2 separate regions of the Homo sapiens genome follow, and region 2 is linked to region 1. The links are contacts of gene promoters, found by promoter capture Hi-C in blood cells and fetal thymus (Javierre and others, 2016). All regions are on one chromosome and are shown on one strand. The core of a region is centred on a gene start or on the middle of the fragment in contact, and the rest is flanking DNA. Distances in the headings are between cores, read along the strand shown.

Region 1 (6,967 bases), core at 1,455-3,954:
TTGACCTCAAACTAAATTCTGAAAGTTCTGTTATCTGCTGAATACTTGGAGCTTCCCAGTGAAAATGATACAGTGTATTCTGCCCAGATTGCAACTTTCCATACTAAGCATTTGAAATGATTCTTGGCCCTAAATATCACTTACTTCAGACTGAATGTCACTGTGTATCAAAAACACTGAGCAAGTGAGATTTTTATTCTTTGAACGTTCCAGTAGGTCACTAATGGAATAGATTCAGTAAAACCTTGCAGCCTACGGTATAATTTGAAACAACAAAAAAATCAAATCACTTTTTGGAAAATATTAGGTTTGAACAAAAATAGAAGTTTCGAAAGGGCTGCCACTTACATTCTTACCTCTGTTAGTTCTTTCCCATCACTCACAGGGAGACTGAAATCCATGCTGAGTGCCCACAGACCTGGGCAGGAGCTGTTCCCTTGAGAGACAATGATGCAAATGAGTCAAGTGATGCCTAGTAGAAGTCAGACTGCAAGGATCACCTTGACCTCACCCTAGTGCATTAGCTAAGCAAACTCACAAGCTTTAAATAATAAAGGTAACAAGAGATTGATCTGAGGTGGGGGAAGTATTATTGAGTCCCTTGAGGAAAGGAAAAAAAAAAAAAAAAGAGGAAATGAGCTCCCAGCTCAAGAATTTTTCTCCTCCAAGCATCCTCTGTTGCTTGTTTTCTTCCATCTTCCTGGCCCTCTGGACCTCTCACTTCCCCCTCCTACCTTTTCCTACTGCTCTAACACAATAAGATAACCTCCCACCGGTTTCTCGCTATTTGGGAAGCTGGAAGGAACAGCAACGATCACCAACCCCTTCCATTTTCCGGATGGGGAGACGGAGACCAGGATCTGAGCTGACCCGACTGGCTGAGGTCGCGCCGCTAGGGGACGTGGTGTACCTTGCGGGCTCGGATGATGACAACCCAGCCTTCCCTCCTCGCTCCTCGCCCGTGCCTTCCTGCCTCAAGCTACCTCCTTCTCTTGCCACTTGGTGTTTTTATCCTCAAATCAGACAAGTATCAAGAAAAAAATGCAACCTTAATATACTTACAATGCTGATTATTATTCATAATTTTGCATTTGGGGCAATTATACTCGCTCCTACTGGGATATGGAAATCAAGGGCAGAAAGAACTAGGTGACATTCTACCTCCCTGTGTATTTTAATGATGTTTAGTTTGGTTCAAATAACCATACCTCTAAAATACACCCTTTTTCCTTGGGACCCACTCTTCTATCCGGCAAGGGAATAACTTCTTAAAAAACTTCGCATTTTCCAAGTGTACAGTCTCCCCTTAACCAGAACTGCAGACTCTGAATCACAGACCTCTGGCTTACCAATTATGCTTAGCTGAGCAAACACACTTATGCAAATACGTGAAAAACAAACTGTTAGAGCCTGAAGGAATAGAGGATTTCGCTGTGATCATCAATATGTGATCATCACATTTTCAATATTTATGTTTACCAATATCTATCTAACCCCATAGGAAACGACGCGTCCATAGTGAAACAAGCCAGCACCCACATTTATGAAAAAATCCACGGATTTCAACAAAAATGAAGAGAGGAGAGCAGAAGCGGAGAGCCACAACCTCAGGCCCCAGACAGCAGGCAGCAGCAAGTCCTGAATGCCTTCACTCTTAACATTGCAAAGACCAAATGGCAGCAAAGAAAAACAAGAATAAACTTTAAATCCATTCACCACAAAGGAGTCCTACGCAAGTCAAAGGAGCCGTCGATTTCAAAACCATCAACTTTCAAAGCCAGGTCCCTCCCTTGCCTTACAACCTCCTGTTACTTGTTAAGCACGTTTGTTAGGCGGCTGGACAGAAACTTAGTTAAAAGTCCTCAGCCCGGTGGTGGGGGACAACCGAGTCGTCAGTGGGAAGCGAGAGGTGCGGAGCCCCAGGGGCGCAGGGACCCCTCGGAGGTGCAAGTCCAGCGGGACGAGGTTTTGGGAGAATTTCGAGGGCCCCTCGCAAGCCCTCCCGCGCACCCACCCCGACCCAGGTAACCGGAGGCCACCTACGTGTCACTGGGCGGGCCCCGGGGCGCACTGACCTGGCGCGGGACAGGAGGGCCGGCGGCCCGGGCGGCTGCGGCAACTTCCCTCCAGGGGCTCGGTCCGCCGCTGGGTGCGGGAGGCCAGGGGAGCCTCGCCTCCTGCAGGCCGGCTCGCAAGAACGCACGGCCACCCACCCGCGCCGCGGCCCACAGCGCGCACCCACACTCTCACTGGCACTCGCACGCGCGCCCCCAACCACAAAGCCCGTCCGCGGCGGGACAGTGTGAGCCCAGCGCGCCGTGTGGCGGGCCGAGCAGTCGCCGCGGCCTCTGGCTTCGCGCCCAGGGGGCGCCGTCCCCACACGCCGCGCCGGCCCCCTTACCTGCGCTCGCTGCCGCCGCGCGTCCCTCTCCTGCCGCCCCCGGGCTGGCTTCAGGCCGCGCGCCCAGTCCCGGCGGCCCCCGCCCCACCGCCAGCCGAGCCCGGCCCTCCGCCCGCCCCTCGGCAGTCGCCCAGAGCGGGGCCGCCCCCTGCGCCCACCCCGCCGGGGTCCCGTGCTCGGCCGGGCGGCGGGGAGGGCTCCGCGGCTCCGGGCCCTGGCCGCCCCAGATCCGGCCCGCGCTCCGCAGCGGGGCTGGAGACGGAGTCGCCACTCAGGGAGCGTCAGCCGCCAGTCGGCCCCTACTGCCCGGCTTTGGCGCGCTGGCAGGAGGAGGGGGCGCAGAGGGAGGGCCAGAGGAGCAGCGCCGACGCCAGCCTCCTCTCTTCCTCCGCCTTCCTTCTTTTCTGCTTGTTCCACGTAGCACAAGTCAGCAACACCCGAACCCCCAGAGTCCGCCCTCCCCGCTCCCAAGCTGGACCCCTTACCTGGTGTGGCGCCCCCAGCGCCCCTGACCTCTGCGCCCCCTCCTCCATTCATTGGCTCGACAGCCCACGGTGGTGGCAGGGCCGGGGCTGGGGGGTGGCCTTAGCCTCCCATTCATTATCTCAGCAGCCTCCCCCGCCCCGCCCCCGAGTCGACACACCCGCAGCGGGAGACCCGTGGCCGCCAGCTCGGGTCCCACCCCCGCCCCTCCTGCGCTTACCCCAGCGCCGGACAGCTGGCAGGACTCCGGTGGACGCCCCGGCACGGGGCATTTTCACGTTGTCGCTCTCCTCTTCCCACTCGAAAAGCTCTGGAAAACATCGCGGGGCCCGCAAAACCCCGGAAATGTGGCCTCTCTTTCGTGGCTCACTTTCTAAACTTTCCAGAAGGCGCAAAGTTTCTCCCAGCGCCGCCCTGCACTGGAGGCTGCGAAGAACGCAGAAGCGGCTTTGCTGCTAGGAAGGTGCATACGTTTCTAGTTCTGATTTTTCACTTCACTGGATCTGTAAACGAAAGCAAGTGTGTCTGCTCCCCTAGTTCTCCATATCCACGATTATAAATTTCTCTTCCGCTTTCCCAGTGTAGCTTTGCAAGTGTAAACTATCAATTTTAGTGAGAGTAATTAAGGGCGGGGACTGCACACCTGGAGGTGTGGGTGGGAGCGGCGCGGGACTAAGGCCTAGGGAACATTCTCAGGAGAGTGGCAGCCACAGGGATTCGCCCAGGTCTTATAACACACCCACTCGATGGGGTCTCCCTAGCCACGCCACCTCACAACACCCATCTCCCACTTCTGGCTTCCCAGGATTTCCGGAGTGATCACAATTATCGGCCTCTCGCTCCACAGCTAAGGCCACCGCATATCAAAAATAGCAGCGTGTGAGTAAAAGTTTCATGAGCCCTCGCCTTGAAATGGCACAGAGGACACAGCACACCAGCAGTAAGGCATGGGGACTCGGCAGGACTGATCTGATTGAGAGAAACGCAGGACAGCGAGGCGGGGCTATGTTGGTGGTGGCCACCAGGTAACCGTGGGCTTTGCAGAAGAGAAAGGTCACTGCAAACCGTAGCTGGACGGAAACTTTTCAAGCCTCAAGTGAGTTATGCTGTGACGGGACCATGACCATCTCCCACCGGTGACTGCTTAGAACCTTGACCAAGCTCGTGTGGTTTTCACAGGATGCTCAGGGCTGAGTCCTGGCTGTAAATAATTTACTATCTAAAGCTGTTTCCTTTTAAAAACAATGGTTCTAATCTTTTTTTTAAAAAAAATCATTCAAATCTTTTTTAAAAATCCACTTTAAATAACTTTGCTTTCTATACCTTTCCTACGAATATATGATTTATTTTATAACCTACTATGTGAAAAAATTGAAATTTTAGTACATGCACAGTGCTAATATGTTCATGCACAATGCTACTTATGTTTGTGTACGGCATGCAGAAATGTGTATAGATATGTATACCCATGAATACAAACCACTCCCTTATCTCACAAATAATCATAGGGGTTGATACCAAACTATAAGAAATATTATATTGGGATGAATAGGCAAATGTTCACTATAAAATCTCAGTATCATAAAAAGTATATATTGGTAAGAAAAAAATATACTCGAAAGAGGTTTCCATATATTTTTAACCATAGCTCTACTCAAGTCAAAAAATCACTTATTAGCTAATTTTCCCGTCTCTTTCTTCCTATACACTGTACTTACTATCAGATTTCTTAACACCAATACTTCTATATCTAATATAAAGACATTTTAAAATTAATTATTTCCATGTTTAGCCTTTCCCCATAAATCAAAGGTAAAGTAAAAGGAGTTTCTTACCTACCACTCAACTTGAATATTTTTAATATGTTGATTTTGTCTCTTACCTTCTTAAGGAATACAGTTGCTTCTGTTTTGACTATCTTAACTACTCTGTGGCCCCTTCTAACATCAAATTGGGAGGCCTGTCCGTACAAGACATGTGTATTCAACAGTAAGTTATTTGCTATAAAACACTTCATTTCCTCTTTATTTGGTCTGCTGTGGCCTGAAATGAAATATAGAACAAACTGAAAGGTCTGCCTGGACAGACCTGTCTTCCTGACAAGCGTGGACCTGTCTAAATGAGACAGCTTCTGCAGCCAGCTTTAGATCGATAACTCTAAAATTAAATGTAGGTATGTACATCCAGTAGAAAAGGACAGAGAAAATGAAATACAATACAGAATTCAGTTCAGCATCTAGATTAATCCATAAAACCTAGCTCATTATGTTCCAAATGAGCTACTTTTCTCATCTGTAAAATGGAATAATGGTACCAGTGCAGTCTTTTATATGGTTCCAAGTTGTCTTTTATCAAAGTAAAATAATATATTTGGGTGGGCTTCTGAAGACACTAACATTGATGATGAGGTTTCAACAGGAACAAAGAATACCTTGATAAATTTTCTTGAATGTTTTCTCCTGTCTGTAGTCCTCTTGTCATTCAGACATTCCCTTTCTTGGAGAGTCATCCTGATGCTTTCTGTCCTAACCTTTCTCTCCTCCCCTCTGCCAAGCAGTATTTCTTTAGATTTGTTTCTTCAAATGACTTCAGCAGAGGTAAAGACCCAAAGACAGCTGGCGCTGTCAAACATGACAAAAAATATTCTTAGCCACAGTGGCTCATGCTTGTAATCCCAGCATTTTGGGAGGCTGAGGCGAGAGGAGCGCTTGAGCCCAGGAGTTCGAAGCTGCAGTGAGCTGCCATTGTGCCACTGCACTCCAGCCTGGGCAACAGCCAGGCCCTGTCTCTTAAAAAGTTTTAAAATTTTTAAATATATATGTATGTTCAGCAAAATGAAGCCAGGCATGGTGGCTCACACCTGTAATCCCAGCACCTTGGGAGGCCAAGGTGGGCAGATCGCTTGAGGCCAAGAGTTTGAGACCAGCCTGGCCAACATGTCTGTCTCTACTAAAACCCTGTCTCTACTAAAAATATAAAAATTAGCCGGCATGGTGGTGCATGCCTGTAGTCCCAGCTGTTGGGAGGCTGAGGCATAAGAATCTCTTGAACTTGGGAGAGAGAGGTTGCAGTGAGCCAAGATTGCACCACTGCACTCCAGCCTGGGCAACAGAACAAGACTGTGTCTCAGAAAAAGTTCAGCAAAATGAAACATTGTGATGGATATTTCAAGTTCAGGTTTTACATTAATATCTGGAAGGACACCATAGACTTTGTCAGACTATTGATATAAGCTAGTGATCCAAGGACTATAATTTGAGAAGCATTTCGGGTGGAAAAATTGGCTGTCACTGCCTTTGGCACTATTATTTGTTCAAAAGGTTCCCCAGTCATGGCACACTCATGGAAGAGTTCTCTCTTCCTCCCTCTGTTCGCTTCCCTCTGGCAAAAAGCTTTTGAAATTTTCTGTTCGAGAGTAATCAAAACTATCAGCAAAACGATCTGTTGGAAACTTTCCCTCCAGTCTATTAAGGTAGAGACTGATTCAAAGACAGTATTTTGGTGAAACAATACCCTGAGAGAACTCAGCCTTTTCCGGAAAGTTTTGCAGATGATGCCTCCAGGCATAGTTTTCTTCCTCCTTGAAATGGGGTATTTGTGCCTCTCCAGTGTTTTTCCCCTTGGCTAGGGGGGAAAAAAAAGCATTCTCCTTAGGAAACCTTTCTATTTTAAAAGTCCAGCGGCAAAGGTGGGTGGGGCAGCCCAATTTAGTAAAAAGTAATAATAATAACACTCTTCAGAGTGCAGGTGGCATAAGGAGATTCCAAGAATGGAGAGAATTTGGGTTTGCATGCAGCAGCCTCCTGCAAGGACTAGGCTGCAATGAAAGCCCCAAACAGAGTAACTCTGTGTTCACCTTTTTCTTATCACATACATCTGCATGAATACTCTGGGTAACATCAGAAGTAGGTCAAGGCTAGCAGATCCTTTCTCTGTAGTCTCCCTCATCCAAAATAAAAAAGGCTTAGATCTAAAACAGAGTGAAGAAAGACAAGGAAAAGGAAAAAAATATATGTGTGTTATATATACAACTATAAAGCTAAAAATGGATCTGGATACAAAGAAATCATAGAAAGGGTCAAC
Region 2 (6,967 bases), core at 1,662-4,161, 200 kb after region 1:
TTCTCTTTGTTTAAAGATTTTGTTTTCTAACCGAGGAAATAATTAAGTTTGAATTCTCTCATCCCCCTTTATGATGTTCTAAACAGCTGGTGTTTTTGTTTGTTTGGGGGCATGCTAATTTTTGCTCAGACTCCCTGTGGATGTAGTATTTGTTTATTCTCATGAGCAGTGGGTTTGTGATATTCTAAACCAATCAGTAATCATTGCATTAGCAAACTTCCTTTATGTAGACAAAATTAAAATTTTGCTTCTTAATCTCACACATCAAAAAATCTTTCTCTAATTCAATTGAGTTGGCCAGTTCCAAGTCCTAAAAAATAGTGCTAAATATCTGGAATTCAGGACTGGCTGCTGTGGCTCACACCTGTAATCGCAGCACTCTAGGAGGCCGAGACAGAACTTGAGGCCAGGAGTTGGAACTGCAGTGAGCTATGATCACACCACTGCACTCACACCACTGTTTTGTTGATTAGGTTAATATTCGTCCCTTAAACCATCATTTAGCAAATGAACACTGAAGTAGAATATCCACCAAAGGCAAAACATAAAAATTAAAAAAAAATTAAAAAAAGAGATCCCTTAAACGAGGGAGGAAGTTATGAAGTGATGAGAAAGAGCTGAGGGAATTTGTTGACTGGCCCAGCCCTCAGCTAGATTCAATCCAGTCCACCTGTTGAATGCCAAGAAAAATAAGTGCATTTTGCAGAGGCTGAGATCTCCAGCTCTCTCCTCTGACCTCCCTCCTTTCTGACCCTTTGACCTCCCCTGCAGGAGCCGCTCTGAGCAACTGTGCCCAGCACCTGGGAGGCGAAAGAACCCTGCAGAAGCCAACAAATCAACATTCCACCAGGAATTTTGTGCTGGATAATTCAACCAATTCAGCTGTTATCCTGGCCACACCCTCGGTCTGGGCTTCCATCCAAACTTCGTCCTTCTTCACTGTTGAAAACCAGAAGCCACAGCCCCCAGCCCTGTCTTCTAGCTCCCCACCCAGGCCCCCCTCTCTCTCTCTGAGCCTCTCCACTGTGCCTGGTAAAACCCCAATTCTATAAGGAACAAACTTCCTTTGGTCTACAAATATTTCCTTGAGAATTCCCCCAACATTAATAAAAAAATCTTCCGGCCAGGCGCTGTGGCTCACACCTGTAATTCCAGCGCTTTGAAAGGCCAAGTGGGGAGGATCATTTGAGCCCCAACAGTTCAAGACCAGCCTCGGCAACATAGTGAGACCCTGTCTCTACAAAAAATACAAAAATTAGCCAAGTATGGTGGTGCATGCCTGTGATCCCAGTTCCTTGGAAGGCTGAGTGGGGAGAGTCACTTGAGCCTGTGAGGTCAAGCCTGCAGTAAGAGGAGATCGCACCACAGCACTTCAGCCTGGGCAACAGAGTGAGACCCTATCAGGGAAAATAGAAATGAACTACTTAGCTTTCTTCCAAAACCTGCAATTCATGAGGAATAATCATCCTCTTAATCAGCAGGGCACCAACATTTGGAGTGAACACGACCTTCTCCCATTTGCCTTCCACATACCATCTGTTGCCAGACCTTGACAATTCTAACTCTAGGGACTTTGTGCAAGGGAATGGGGCCTAAATGGGCCCATGCTCAATTATTAATCATTCTAAAATTTTTTTTAGTTTGTATTATGAAAAGTTTCAAACATACATTATATAGAGACTAGCAAAGCAAAAATCCCAAGTACCCCCCAGCTCTTCTCAACATTTTACAATACTGTATTTGATTCCATTTCCTTTCAGAATTTTTTTAAAATAAACACAAAAAGGTTGAATGACTCTCCCCAGGTCCACATCACATACTCCACACAGTGTCTAAGACACAGAACATAAAAAGAATTATTTGCTCAATAGTACTTGGTATAAATGTATGAGCCTCCCTGAGTCCCAATCCCTTCTTTCCCTATGTCCTCCTTTTTGTATGTATTTCTATCTGCATTAGTTGTCTCTCTCAACATTTTTTTCTTTATACACCTGTGCATGTCCATCTATTTCCCTTTTATTATCTTTCTCTCCATAAGATTTCTTTCCTTTAATAACTACAGCCATGTGTCGCTTACCCATGAAGATATGTTCAGAGAAATGTGTTGCTAGGCACCGATGAAAGTTGTGTGGACATCATCAAGTGTACTCCCACAAACCTAGATGGCATAGCCCACTACACATATGGGATATATGGTAGAGTCTTTTGCTCCTAGGCTACAAACCTGTACAGCATGTTACTGTAATGAACACTGTAAGCGTTTGTAACACAATGGTATTTGTGCATTTAAACTTCTGTAAACGTAGAAGAAATACAACAAAAAATAGATGGTATAAATGATTTAAAATGGTTTGTCTAGGGTACTTACCATGAATAAAGCTCGCAGGGCTGGAAGTTGCTCTGGGTGACTGAGTGAGTGAATGTGAGGGCTCAGGACGTTACTGCACACTGCTGCAGACTTTATGAACATTGTACCCTTAGGCTATATTACATTTATTTAATTTTTTTCTTCAATAATTACCCTTAGCTTACTGTAACATTTTTTACTTTAAGCTTTTTAATATTTTTCAATTCTTGTAATAACACAGCTTAAAACACTTTGTATAGTTGTACAAAAATATTTCTTTGTTCTATAAGCTTTCTTCTATTTTTAACTTTTTTTTTTAACTGTTAAAACTTTTTTCATAACTACCAAGACACAAATACAAACATTAGCCTAGGCATACATGTTAAGATGGCTACAATGTCACTAGGCAATAGGGATTTTCAGTTCTGTTATAATCTTATGGGACCACCATAGTATACATGGACCATCATTAACCACAACGTCATGCAGCACATGACTGCATTTCATAAGCACCTGCTATGTGCCAGATGCTGTTCTAGACCCCTAAGAAACATATCTGTCAACCTTTTTCTCTATGTAGCTTTCTCTTTGCTGATACCTCCTATTTTCTGACCATCTTTCAATCTGAACTTATTTCCCTTTTTCTTTTATCATCTCCACCCCTTCCCACACTTCCCTGTCTAAACTGACTATAAAAGAAAATAGAAGCATCATATCATGTATAATTGTGCTTTTGCATGAGAACGAGTTCTCCATAGCTTAACTTTTAAAAGCAGGTTAACGAATAATTTCCTATTGGGTAATATTCAGATTTTTGACCCAGCTCTCAAGTCTGAAAAGAAGCTTTTATTTCTCACCAGGTACCCTGGATCCCGAGCATACCTGAATTGTCTCCATCCTACAAATTTACTTCCAGGCTTTTTCTTACGCTGTTTCTTGTTAGATGGGATGTTCTCAAACTGGATGTGTCAAGATTCTTCAGAGACTTGGCTGCCTCTGTCCCCACTTTCTCACCCATGTCACCAGCATTTAGCAAATGCCTAGTGCACAGAAAGTGCTCAAAAAATGTTTATTGTATTTTTTAAAACATAATAAAAACTAAGTTACTCATTACTTGGTGCACCACGTTTTCTGTTAGGTGATAGACCACCATAGAAATAAATCCAACTCAAATTGAAAGGCTAAAATGGAAAAAGAGGAGGTAAAAAGAATAGACAAGGAAGAATTCACAACAATTGTCACCCTGAGAAGGAATGAGAAATTCTGAGATCCTTCCTTGTCAGGGGGTTAAAGAACTGTCAGAGATGGGGTAGAAGCAACTGCAAATAGTTGGCCTCCTTATTAATCCTTCAGGGGAAGAAAACCTGTTCTAAGTACAAGGACTAACAGCTGCAGTTCTACCAGCACATTCCACAGAAGTTACAAGGAAACTGATGAGAATTCAAATACTCTGTGATAACAGTGGGACGAAGCTTCCAAAGGAAAACACTAGGAAAAAAGATTTGCAGACTTTTCTCCCTTAGAAAAGTGAAGAATTAAACCGCATGTATCTGGAAGACCCCAGTGAACCAGGGGTTAAAGAAGATGGTATTAAATGCCCATATGAAGGTTTACACAAAGGGGCATAGCAGCAATGTTAAATAACAAAGAAGTTAAAAATAATCATAGCTACCAACAATATACTGTGTTTTTCAAAACAGCTAGATGAGAGGATTTGAGATGTTTCCAACATATAGAAATGATAAATACTTCAAGTGATGGATACTCTGAATATCGTGACTTAATCATTACTCATTCTACACATGTAATGAAACATCATCTGTATGCCCTAAATATGTACAAATGTTATGTATCAAATAATAATAATTTCCTCTCTCTAGACCCCTCCCAGGTCCAAACTGGTGTACAACACTTCAGTGAGCTAATTTATCTACACCAAGAGATAAAGTCCTTGATGTTCAACACCCTTAGGGATTTAGTAATTAAGCTCATTTAGAAGATAAGTACTAGCTGTCTGAGAAGAAAGGCATTCCTGGCAAAGCAAGGTTGTAGACTCCTGGAGCAGGTGGATCTTCATGAGGCCCAAATAGACCACATTCTTAGAAAATGACCGTATTTGCAACACCTGCCTGCAATGAAATCACCTTGGGTGCTTGTTAAAAATTCAGATTTCAGAATTCAGAAATTTAGATTTCTGGATCCCAACTATTTTCTTTTAATTGAAGGTTTACATACAAAGGAATAGCTCAGTGTTAAATAACTAGGAATTTTTTTAAAAACAAACAAACAAAACAAAACAACTCTCCTGTTTTAGGCATTATCCAAATCCAAACTGATTTGCAACACTTTTATGAGAGCTAAGGTAAGGGCTCCTGGGGGTCAAACGCATTTCAGCAAATCTTCCTGATGAAGCAGAGGCTTAGAGGTCCAGAGACCACACTGCATGTATCAGCCACAAACCTCTCATGGGGCCAAAAGCTACCTGTTCTGAGGTTTCCTGTTCTGGGAACATCCTCCCTTGACCACAGGCCTGAGAAACTGCAGGACAGAAACTCCTCCTATATGCTTCAGAGCCTCCTTTTCTTTGCTCTTGCATAGACCTGCACACTGGGCTTGTACTTCTAACAGCTGCTGACATTTATCACATTATCCTATTTAATTTTCTCTTTCAGCAGATTTATGTACTTTATTTTATTGTTTCATTATTCTATGCTCTTGCTAATGCTTTTCTTGCTAAGTGTGTGTGTGTGTGTATATATATACACACACACACACACACACACACACACACACACACATATATTTATTTATTTTTTGAGATGGAGTTTCGCTCTTGTTGCCCAGGCTGGAGTGCAATGGCTTGATCTTGGCTAACTGCCACCTCTGCCTCCTGGGTTCAAGTGATTCTCCAGCCTCAGCCTCCCTAGTAGCTGGGATTACAGGCACCCGCCACCACGCCCAGCTAATTTTGTGTATTTTTAGTAGACACAGCGTTGCACTATGTTGGCCAGACTGGTCTCAAACCCCTGACCTCAGGTGATCCACCTGCCTCGGCCTCCCAAAGTGCTGGGATTACAGGTGTGAGCCACTGTGCCTGGCCGCTAGGTATATTTTTAAAATAATTCATCATCTTGCTTTTTGAAATTTAGTGATAAAGCAAGGATAGCAAAATGTTAATTGTAACATCTAGGTGGTTTGTTTGTTTGTTTATTGGGAGAGACAAGGTCTCACTATCTTCCCCAGGCTGGTCTCCAACTCCTGGGCTCGAGCAATCCTCCCTTCTCTATCTCCCAAAGCGCTGGGATTATAGGCATGAGCCACCACACCAGGCCTGGCAAATTTATTTTTAATTCCTGTGTTCACCATACAGTTGTTAAACTTTCTGTATGTTTGAAGCTTCTTATAATAAAATATTGGGAGTAGGGGATTCCAAAAGTATGAAAAGGGATAGAGTGAAAAGTAAACTCCACTCCTTCTTTCACTTACTTAAGTCTGGTTCTCAGAAGATAATCACTATTAACAGTTTCTTCTGTATCCTCCCAGAAGTTGTCTGTACTTATATAAGCACATATTTTTTTCTACCCAATGGCATATATCACATAACATTAAGTGCATAAGAGCAAACCTGAAACTTGCTTTCAGTTATCAACACATCAGGAAAGTCTTTTCAAATCAGTATGTAGTATACAGAAATCAGTCTCATTTTTTAGTTATTATATGAAATTTCATTTTATGAAATACAATTGGCTGTCTGTTTCCTTGTGTTCTGCACCCATGGATTCAACCAATTTTGGATCAAAAATTTTTCAGGGAAAAGAATGGATTGTACCTGTAGTGAATATGTGCAGACTTTTTTTCTTCATCACTATTCCCTAAATAATACAACTATTTACACAGCATTTACATTGTATTGGGTATTACAAGTAATCTAAAGGTGATTTAAAGCATACAGGACGATGTGTGTGGGTTGTGTGCAAATACTACACCATTTTATATAAAGGACTTGAATTTTCTTGGATTTTGGTATCCTCAAGAGGTCCAAGAACTGATCCCCCACGGGCACCGAGGGATGATTGTACATTATTCAATCAGTGCCATGTTGAGACAGACTATGCAAGTTGTTTCTAGTTAGTTTTGCTGACACTTACGTATGCACAAATGTTACAGTCAACATCCTTATACTACTATCTTTTTATATTTATCCAATTTTTTAAATTATACTTTAGGTTCTAGGGTACATGTGCACAACGTGCAGGTTTTTACATAGGTATACACGTGCCATGTTGGTTTGCTGCACCCATGAACTCGTCATTTACATTAGGTATTTCTCCTAATGCTACCCCTCTCCCAGGCCTCCACCCCGCGACAGGCCCCGGTGTCCAATTATTTTTATAGAATACATTGTTAGAAGTTAAAATACTGGGTCAAAATTTACATTGAAATGTTTGAAAATATGAAATGACTCCTAAAAAGTCACACCAATTTATATTTTATGCCTGGTTTTCTACATCTTCAAATATATTTTGTATTTTCAAACTTTTTAATCTTTACCAATATGCTAAGTAGAAAAAATGAACTCTAATTTTAATTTTATTTCTTGCCAGTTGATGATCTTTACCT

Evidence for each region. Contacts are between HindIII fragments. The CHiCAGO score rates a contact against its expected background, and 5 or more counts as called.
Region 2: a contact is called between a fragment that was not itself captured here and the fragment with the promoter of LPAR1 in region 1, in 4 of 17 cell types (monocytes, M2 macrophages, M0 macrophages and 1 more). The highest score is 9.6, in monocytes.

Annotation. Positions count from the first base shown.
Region 1 is chr9:111,035,766-111,042,732 of GRCh38, forward strand. LPAR1 (lysophosphatidic acid receptor 1) reads right to left here and starts at 2,705. Exons shown (of 6, transcript NM_001351411.2): 1 at 2,402-2,705; 2 at 357-436. LOC124902248 (a long non-coding RNA gene) reads left to right here and starts at 1,163. Exons shown (of 2, transcript XR_007061732.1): 1 at 1,163-2,024; 2 at 3,690-6,967. RefSeq lists a silencer at 2,135-2,474. The HindIII fragment of the contact is 5,735 bases long and covers 540-6,274 here.
Region 2 is chr9:111,232,801-111,239,767 of GRCh38, forward strand. No RefSeq gene overlaps it. Among named protein-coding and RNA genes, the nearest start is that of MIR7702, 35 kb to the right of the region's middle. The HindIII fragment of the contact is 553 bases long and covers 2,636-3,188 here.